2 separate regions of the Homo sapiens genome follow, and region 2 is linked to region 1. Evidence: promoter capture Hi-C in human tissues and cell types (Jung and others, 2019). All regions are on one chromosome and are shown on one strand. Each heading gives the region's core, a stretch centred on a gene start or on the middle of the fragment in contact. The rest is flanking DNA. Distances are from core to core; before and after follow the strand shown.

Evidence for each region. Contacts are between HindIII fragments. The study calls those that stand out against the background at their distance.
Region 2: a fragment that was not itself captured here is called in contact with the fragment with the promoter of PNPT1 in region 1 in 1 of the 25 tissues and cell types used here (dorsolateral prefrontal cortex).

The regions. Positions count from the first base shown.
Region 1 is chr2:55,692,449-55,697,644 of GRCh38, forward strand. It overlaps PNPT1 (polyribonucleotide nucleotidyltransferase 1), which reads right to left and starts at 1,396. Exons shown (of 28, transcript NM_033109.5): 1 at 1,215-1,396. The coding sequence starts at 1,375. RefSeq lists a silencer at 586-645 and enhancers at 1,216-1,335, 1,346-1,405, 1,436-1,585. The HindIII fragment of the contact is 13,131 bases long and covers 1-5,196 here.
Region 2 is chr2:56,741,661-56,746,517 of GRCh38, forward strand. No RefSeq gene overlaps it. Among named protein-coding and RNA genes, the nearest start is that of CCDC85A, 560 kb to the left of the region's middle. The HindIII fragment of the contact is 4,990 bases long and covers 834-4,857 here.

The DNA.
Region 1 (5,196 bases), core at 146-2,645:
AAAAAATTTAGATATATGAAGTTTGCATTAGCAATTCCATTTATTCTAAGAACGATTAAAGCAAACTTTTTTTTTAAAAAGCGGTCCCCTAAAAAAAAGTATGGGCTTTGTAAGCAAAAAACAGAAATTCAAAAACCACCTAGTCCCATAATACTAACTTTTTTATAGACTCTTAGAAAGTTATCTAACCTTTTTTGAGCCTCTGTAGTCTTAACTATAAAATGAGGGTAATAGTACCTTTACGACAGGTTTAAAAAGATTGCGAGGATCATATAACTGGCGTTCAAAAAACTGACTTTTCCTTTTCCTCCTAACCCAGGGTCATAGTGGTCACACTTTAGGCAATCAATTAGATTGGATGACATGATATCTTGTACTCCTAACTTCAAGTCATCCTTCCGTCTTAGCCTCCCAAAGTGCTGGGATTACAGGTGTGAGCGCCTGACCTTTTGCCATCTCTTTGCATCGATCTTTGCTTTTGTTTCTCTCTGTGTGTCTCCTTGCCTCTCTCCCTGTCACTGTCTCTCTCTCTCCCCTGCCTCCCTCTTGGTCTCTTTTTTTTGCTGTCTCTTTCTGATGACCTTGTTCCCATCTCTGTGCGTGTGTGGCTCTCTCCCTGTCCATCTCTTACCATCTCTGCCTTCCTCTCCCAGGTCTTAAACGAATATTTCCACAATGTCTGTGAACTGGACCTGGTGTTCAACTTCTACAAGGTAGGCTCCTGGTGAAGAGGAGGCTGAAGGAGCCCGAGGAGTGGGACGTGGGGGACCCGTGGTGCACTAGCCACCCGGAGCCTCTGCTGAGGTCTGTGTCCCAGCTCGAGGGGCATCAGAGCCCCAGCTTCCAGGGTCCGGGCCAGCATCCCGGGGGGCCTCGTCTCACCCACGTCAACTCGTTATTCCTAGGTGGAATGTTTCCCACTTAAGAGCCCAGTGGTCCCGGAAAGTAAAGAGATCGGAAGTCAGGTGGACGGACAGAGTCGGATGGAGCAAAGAAGCCCGGCACACACCAACAGAGAGAACGACATAGCGCGGGAAGGAGGGTCCGAGGAGACACATTCCAAACCCGGAAAGGGAAATTTGGAATTTAGGTTTAGGGTAAGGAGAGATTAAATAGAGCTGGGATACCGGGTTTCTACCCTGGGAGATGAATACGCTCAAGCTGGCTGGACAAGACACCTTATGACAATACAGTGAACGCACGTCACTCCTTACCTGTTGCCTAAGTCCACGGCCACAGCTCGAGACCCTGCGCTACTCCATAGTGCTCGCACTTGCAACTGGGTGAGTGCCCGATCCCGCCGTGGCAGAAGGAAAGGACCATCGCTCAGGGGCCGGAGCCGGAGGCACGAGCAGCAGTACCTGCAGGCCGCCATGACACCCGGCACGCGGTCAACGCAGGCTGTGCCCTGATTGGCTCACTCCGCAGACCGTGGGGCGGAGCCTGATGGAGTTTCGTTTCCGCGGTGCCCGAGGGACGCCGGGGTAACGGAAACCTTGGCCACCTTCTACGAAGACTAGAGAGGGTCAAACCTATCAGAACGCGATTATGTTGCAAACGATCTTTGTCTTTATGTGCCAACGAAAGGCAATTAGATAAATAAGGTTTTTGTGTGTGTACTATCGTAATTTAAAGGAGAAGTCCTAGAATAATGTAAATGTTTAATATGCAGAGTAAATTTATATTTACTTTTAATACTAGAAGTCATAGAACAACACATTATTATTATTTGGATCTGTGAACTAAGAATTAGAATTTGGGTGGTGGGCCTTGGAAAGAGATCTCCTTCTCCCCTTCTCCGCCCTGGTTTTTATTTTAAAAATTTCACATAGCAGATATGTTACTACAGCGATTTGTGTTAACCAATTTACAGTAAATTCATTTTTCATCGACTTGTAATTTTAGAAATCTTTATTGTCACTTCTGATTCATTTTCATTTCCATTGCTAATAATTAGCAATTTATATTTCTGTCCCTTTTGGTCGAACTCTTAAATGCAAAATGCCAGCTACTGTTTGAAGTAAATATTTTGTAAAATGAAAAAAAAAAGTTTTTGGGATTTGAAAAATTTTTAGAGAATGGATAAATTTCTTCCACCCCATTAATCCATTCTGTTAGAAATTCTTTATGTTTTTCCTTGAATGAACCAATGGGCATTTTCATATTATGATGTAAATTTTTTGTGTAAGGTGATAACCGCCTTACCCCAAAGAAAACCAAACAACAAAAACCCAACACTCATTCAAACACAGTTTTAAGAATTAAAAACGTTGGCTGGACGCTGTGGCTCACGCCTGTAATCCCAGCACTTTGGGAGGCCGAGGCGGGCGGATCACCTGAGTTCGAGACCAGCCTGACCAACACAGAGAAACCCCGTCTCTACTAAAAATACAAAACTAGCCGGGCATGGTGGCTTATGCCTGTAATCCCAGCTACTCGGGAGGCTGAGGCAGGGGAATCGCTTGAACCCGGGAGGCGGAGGTTGCAGTGAGCCGAGATCGCGTCATTGCAACAAGAGTGAAACTCGGTCTCAAAAAAAAAAAAAAAAAAAAAAAAAAAAAAAGTCCGGGCGCAGTGGCTCATGCCTGTAATCCCAGCACGCTGGGAGGCAGAGGCGGGTGGATCACGAGGTCAAGAGACCCAGGGCATCCTGGCCAACATGCTGAAACCGCGTCTCTACTAAAAATACAAAAATTAGCTCGGTGTGGTGGCGCGTGCCTGTAATCCCAGCTACTCCAGAGGCTGAGGCATGAGAATCGCTTGAATCCAGGAGGCGGAGGTTGCAGTGAGCCGAGATCGCGCCACTGCACTCCAGACCGAGACTCCATCTAAAAAAAAAAAAAAAAAAAAAAAAAATTAAAAATGTTGATCCGTGATGATTTAAAAAAGAAAAAAGAATGATGAGCTCTAAACAGACAAATGATTTGCTGGCAAAGCAGTTTTCTGACACCTTGCTTTCATGAGCTATTATTACTGATTTGGGATTTCCATTCCAATAGAGGGATTACCATTAACTTTGTTTACAGATTTTTAGTGTTAAAGCAGTTTTTGCGTCTCCTCCCTTTTACTTTACCTTGAGTTGCCACAGAGTTTTCCAGACCAATCTATTGAAATCTCTCATGAAGATAAATCTCTCAGAAAACCTACTTGCCACAATTGAACATGACTTTTGATTTATAGAGTAAGAATACAAAATCATCTTTTTGTTAATATACTTAATTACTATGTAATCATTTTCATTTGGGCAGTATTGCCTAATAGTTTAGAGCATAGACTTGGAGTTAGTCCCAGCTGGTTCCAATCTTGTCTCTGTTAATTACCAGTTGTGTGACTCTAGCTCTCTGAGCCTCAGTTTCCCCATAAAAACAGATAGTAATATGAATCTAATAGGGTTTTTGTAAGGATTAAAAGTGTCGGCCGGGCGCGGTGGCTCACGCCTGTAATCCTAGCACTTTGGGAGGCCGAGGCGGGTGGATCATGAGGTCAGGAGATTGAGACCATCCTGGCTAACAAGGTGAAACCCCGTCTCTACTAAAAATACAAAAAATTAGCCGGGCGCGGTAGCGGGCGCCTGTAGTCCCAGCTACTCGGGAGGCTGAGGCAGGAGAATGGCGTGAACCCGGGAAGCGGAGCTTGCAGTGAGCCGAGATTGCGCCACTGCAGTCCGCAGTCCGGCCTGGGCGACAGAGCGAGACTCCGTCTCAAAAAAAAAAAAAAAAAAAAAAGTGTCAGATGATATAATAGTACCTAGCACATTGTCAACACTCAATAAATGGTAAATTTAGCTTTCATCCAGCCTTTTCGTTTTTTTCAAGACAGAGTTTTGCTCTTGTTGCCCAGGCTAGAGTGCAGTGGCGTGATCTCAGCTCACTGCAACCTCCGCCTCCGGGGTTCAAGTGATTCCCCTTCCTCAGCCCTCCCAAATAGCTGGGATTACAGGTGCCTGCCACCATGCCTGGCTAATTTTTTGGATTTTTAGTAGAGATGGGGTTTCATCATGTTGGCCAGGTTGGTCTTGAACTCCTGACCTCAGGCAATCCACCCGCCACGGCCTCCCAAAGTGCTGGGATTACAGGCATGAGCCACCGCGCCCAGGCTTATCCAGACTTTTCTTAATTCTTCCTCCAGTTTCCAGGTATTCTGAACATTTTTCTCTTCTTCAGAACTCCTTGAACTCCTTGAATCGGTTAGCTTTTATCCAGCCAGAAGTGATGGAAAGCAGCATTTACCTATTAAGAATCCCCCACCCCCATTTCCTCACACAAATCTGATATAATTCAAATAGTAGTAATTGGATAGTAAACTCAAAAGCAAATGTAGGCACTAAAATCTTGCAGCAGAGCTTTATTATGAAGATATAGATGATACAGAATGCGTTTATATGTTTATATTAAGCATTTTTAGATTAGCGTAGAAAGAAAAATATAATAAGTTTAAATTCTTGTAGTTGTTACTACTGAAGCTATAATCCGTGAGGTTCAGTCTGAGATGTTATTCTGCAAGTAGAGTTATGTCAAGTGTAGTTCAACAGCCAAAATATAATTTAAAAGGGATTTATTTACCTATGACTGCTGAAGGACATTAAAAATGATCCAACTTAAATCCACCAGCAACTTCTCAGATCTCCTTTTCCCTTTTCTTCAAACTCTGATGAACCTGCATCAAAACAGTTAATACCACTGCATGTTCTGAATAAGCAACTACGTTAAGTAAAACACCATTGCATTAAATTATGCTTAACTACTTTTTTTTTTTTTGAGATGGAGTCTTGCTCTGTTGCCCAAGCTGGAGTGCAGTGGCACAATCTTGGCTCACTGCAACCTCCACCTCCTGGGTTCAAGCAATTCTCCTACCTCAGCCTCCCAAGTAGCTGGGACTACAGACGTGCGCCACCGCGCCCAGCTAATTTTTGTACTTTTAATAGAGACAGGGTTTCACCATGTTGGCCAGGCTGATCTCCAACTCCCACCCTCAGGTGATCTGCCTGCCTTGGCCTCACAAAATGCTGGGATTACAGGCGTGAGCCACAGAGCCCGGCCCTTTAACTATATTTTAATTTAGTTTGTAGTTTAGTTTAGACAGGATATACATTTATATTGCTTTTATGACTAAAAGCTGTAACAATATGGAAGTTATATTTTGTTATATAGTAACATTATAATTAAAAGTATCAGCAGTCCCTGAAGTGTTCAGGAA
Region 2 (4,857 bases), core at 2,079-4,578, 1.1 Mb after region 1:
TGCTGGCATAGGCCAGGCAGCTCACAGCTGTGACTCATCTGCTGATGTGTTCCCTCAGGCTCTCCCAGAGTAGCTGCGGTAAGTGGAATAGTGCATATTGAAAATCTGGACACATGTTACACATTTCTCAATACCACCCGACTGAGGGAACAAGGGTAAGTGTGGCAAAATATGCCACCCCGAAATATGCCACTTTGGCGTAAAGGTAACTTTGATCTAAATGCACTTGAAAAACAGCAAATGCATGAGAGGCGTCCTAATCTCCCCTTTTCTGAAAACAGGAGATTAAAAACTCCCTTGTGAAAGTTCCCTTACACCATGAGGAGGTAAACATTCTTCAGTGGGGAGTCATAGCCCAGAGAATTTTGTGCAAACAGACCTTGTCAAAATAATTCTTGTCATCTTTTAGCTTCCCCACAGAATTTAGTTACTTTTCCACAATTGCCTCTCTGTTTTCAACCTAATATATTAGCTTTTAGGTTTTGTCAATTTTTGGGTCTTCTTTTCCTTATTAGGGCTCCCGTATTACATAAAATTTATATTAAATTTCTATGCTTTTCTCTGGTTAATCTGACTTATGTCAATTTAATTATTAGGTTCTGTCTAAAACCCTAGGAGGGTAGAGGTAAAATTTTGTCTCCCTGACAAGGGTAAAGTGAGGAAGTATTTTCTTTCCTTTTTCATGAATAGCATTTCCCTGGGTTCTGGGGTGAGGGAGCAGATTTTTGTATTTTTTTTTATCTCACAAAAGTTTTATTTACAAAGTTTCCATATTTTTGTGGTTGTTTCAAATAGTTGTTTTAAGCTTTTGTGGAGGTTTTGCTTATATCTGCAGATTTAGCATCAGTAGGCATATATTAAGCTTGATAGCAACTTAAAAATAAGGAGACCACAAATGTTTGAACTATTTTCCAGGTGACATCTGTTAATAATGCAATATATTTAGAAATATGGTAACTGAGGTTTTCATAATCAGTTTAGGTCTTCAATATTTCTGTGGAGTATGGAGAGCAGAAATCAAGCAGTGTTCTTAAGATGAGGATCTGTCTATAGGTTTTAAAGTAACTTTTACTTCTCAAGGAAATGAAATGGGAACAGCAGAATTGTGAGACCCCTGTAGAGGTCATGTTTGGACAAATATATCTTCATTTGTTAAATTGTGTACATGTTTACAGCAAGCCTGGCTTTCAGCAGCAGGCAGTGAATTCCTACTCAAATGTTTCCTTTACACAATCATTCTTAGCTTCCAAGTGAGCAAAAGGAAACTGCTATTTATTTTGAATTTGTTATTTAGCTTATTGTGACTAGATATATACCCAACTATAATTTTTTTAATTCTGTGGATTATTAAAAACAAGGTTTTGCCAATTTTCTTAGAAATGTAAAAAAAATGGGAAATAGAGAAAGTAGTGAGCTATGAGAGACAGGATGGGGGAGGCAGAAGGGAAAAAGAAATGAGAGGTTGTTCTCTGTAGTTAATGCATTTGTCTTAGAAGAAAATTTTAAAGAAGAAAAAAAGTGGCTTGCTTTAAGTACATGACAGGTGCCCAGATTTTATCTAATATTAAAAATCATGACGTGTCATATGGTTGTCAGGAATCTGAGATAATATTAACTTTTATTTCACGACAGTGCTCTGCCACTGCTGATTTTACATTTAACACAGAGTCCATTTCTTCATCTCCCCTTAAGAGCCAGCCAATTCAAGATTTATTGATTTGGTGTCAATCAAATATGGTTTATCTTCTCAGTCTTTGCCTTACCTAATTGTTGGCAGCCCTTGGAAGAGAGGATACTGTTAACCTTCGGAATGTGCATGAAGGCTTGGCGAGTGAGGTAGGAAAGGTTTAGCTGAGCCAGTTTGGTTGGAACACCAGTGCCCATTGAGAGAGAGTTCTAGGTCATGGTGCTTCATCTGCAGTGAGGGTGGCCAGAAAGAGATCCTCTAAAACTTCATACGCATCAGGAGATGCGAGAAGCGGTGATTACAATGCTGGGAAAAATGCCAGAACTGTATGTATGTGTGTGTGTGTGTGTGTGTGTGTGTGTGTTGGGGGGCGTGATATTGCAACCCTGGCATTTTGTAAAAAAAAAAAAAAAAAAGTGAAAATATATTTAACAGAATTAACAATCTCCTTGCTTCATGCTTTTCAAATGCTAATATTTGAAAAATGTATCGAATGTGAAGTTATGAAAAATATAAAAGTTAAATTAAAAATATGATTAAAATATACATTACTGGCCACTAAATCACATCTCTGTACTGTGCTGTTTGCTGTAACTCCGATCCTTTACTGTCTGAGACTACTACAGTCACCTGGAGTGGAATCCTCTAATGTGGCCACTCCAGTTGACCTTTGGTGTCTTCCTGTCATTTAGCAATCCTGTATAGACTTGGCATTACTATTGCCTCTCTGGCTGCTCATGATGGAGGGTCCAATTTCAGCAATTTTGATTTCTTTCCTAGGTATCCACAGAGATATGGTCATGTCCTCAGTCTCTCCTTCCCTTTCCAGTTGATACATGTGCTCGTGCTACAAGCTTTTCCAGCCAGGTCCTCCTTGGCTGTCTGTGTGATGATGAAGTGGGGTTAGAGGGAAGGATAAGAAAAAATTGGAGGAGATAGGGAACTGTAGGAGCTCAGTGATAAAGAATAACCCAAACAACTTGCAGTGGGATGTCAAGAGTGGTGGCGGGGCAGGTAGTGGAGCAGAAGAGAAGTCTATTTGAGAGAGAGAGATAAATGACCAAGTAAACTGCTTACCAATGTCTCCAACATTTACATGATGACAACAGAAGCATTGATGTTTCATTTTTTTTGTTTAAGAAATAGCAAGGTGAAAGGTGAAGGCCTTCAACCTTGGGTGCACACTGGGAAGCTTTAAAAATACTGAGTCTTGGGTCCCATCCATCAAGAGATACTGATTTACTTGGTTAGGATTGTTGCTCTATCATCAAAAGTTTATAACTCTTCCTGGAAGTTCTCATATTCTGCCAAGGTTGAGAACTACAGTTAAGTGAATACCAGGATTTGATTATAATCAGTAAATTATTTTTATTTTAACCAAAGAGAAAGAGGTTCATCTTTAAGAGGCATTTTTAAGGTACCAGACACAGTGGTGAATACTTATATTATTAACTTTTTAAAAAAATTATCATAGTAACATTGTGAAGTGGGGATAATCAACCTCTTCAATAGGTGAAGGAAGTGAGGCCTACAGAGAAGTAATTTGCCCAAGGTGACACAGTTTGTGGAGGTGAAACAACCAGCTGGGACTCAATCACAGGTCTTTGTGATTTGTCTTTTTCCTTATCTTTCCTTTAAGACCCAGTTGGGAATTATAGATAGGTATCATGGATTGCTTGAGGACCTAATATTTTTCATGCTTTATGTCTAGGAATAAGAAAAAATAAATTCTATGTGTTCTAATTACCATAACCCCCAAGATTGTCTAAAATTAGGAGCCAACAAATTATAACCCAGCATCTATTTTTTACACAACCTATGAAGAAAGAATGTTTTTCATCTTTTTAAATGGTTGAAAAAAATTAAGGAAGAATCTTTCATGACCTGTGAAAATGATATAAAATTATAAATTTGGTGACCACAAAGAAAGTCTTATTGAAACAAATTAATTTGCTTTTGTGTTGTCTATAGCTCCTTTCACATTATAATAGCAGGATCAATTTTGGCGGAGACCATTTTATGTCCAGCAAAACCTAAACTATTTACTATCTTTCCATTTACAGAAAAAGTTTATTGACTTTTTCTCTATATGAAAACCTTATAAATATAAATAAATAAAAAAGCTGATATATCCTGCAGAGAATTCCCTTTCACATTAAAAAATATTTAACAATACAAAACAATTTACAAGTTTCCTTTAAGGTATAAACTCCCCCAGTGACTTGAAATGTTGGTATGAAAATCATTACATGATCACTGTTCTCATCATTCCTTCTAAGAGATCAACTTTTTAAGATTCATATATGAGTGAGATCATGAAGTATTTGTTTTTCTGTGTCTGGTTTATTTCACTTAACATAGTAACCTCTAGATTCATACTTGTTGTTGCAAATAAAAGAATTTTGTTTTTAGTGGCTGATTACTATTCCATTATATATTTATACTACATTTTCTTTATTCATTCATCTATTGTTGGACACTTAGGTTGATTCCAAAGGTTATTATGTGTCAATTAGAAATTAAAATTAGGTGACCCTGGGGGTCAGTTCTTAGAGAAATATAAAGCCAAAGTACCATGAACCATTATTCACTGATTGATCATAGGAAAATGTAAAACCTTTGCAGTTCACATCACTAACAACTGAATATTTATTGTAGTAACTCCATTCACTTTTAGTTTTACTTGTGAATTAAGCAAATCACTGCATAGTTCTGTTTCTATTTTTGGCATCATATAGCTTTTACCAAAATTTCTATTTTCTTAAATATTGTTGTATACATTAATTTTTTTTCTGAAATGCATCATCAGTAATATGCTGTCTTTAGTGGAGCAACTATACCAAGAGTTTCTCAACATGTGTTCCTTCAAGCACATGCATGAGAATCACAGATCATGCTTGTTTTAAATAGAGATTCCAGGGTTATAGGCCAGACCAACTGATTCAGAATTTCTGAGGGGTGGGTTCAAGGTTTTGCCTTTCAACAAGCTCACCAGGTAAATCTCATGCACCTTGTAGACTGAGAATTTCATGCTACATCATGGGTGAGAATATTCGCAACCATACTAGAGGCATAAATTTGGAGGAGTATGCAAACAGGGTGTAGAGACTCCTGCAGAGAAGTAGAGTTATATCAGGTCTCTGTATCCTCATGTGGTGTGATTGGAAGCT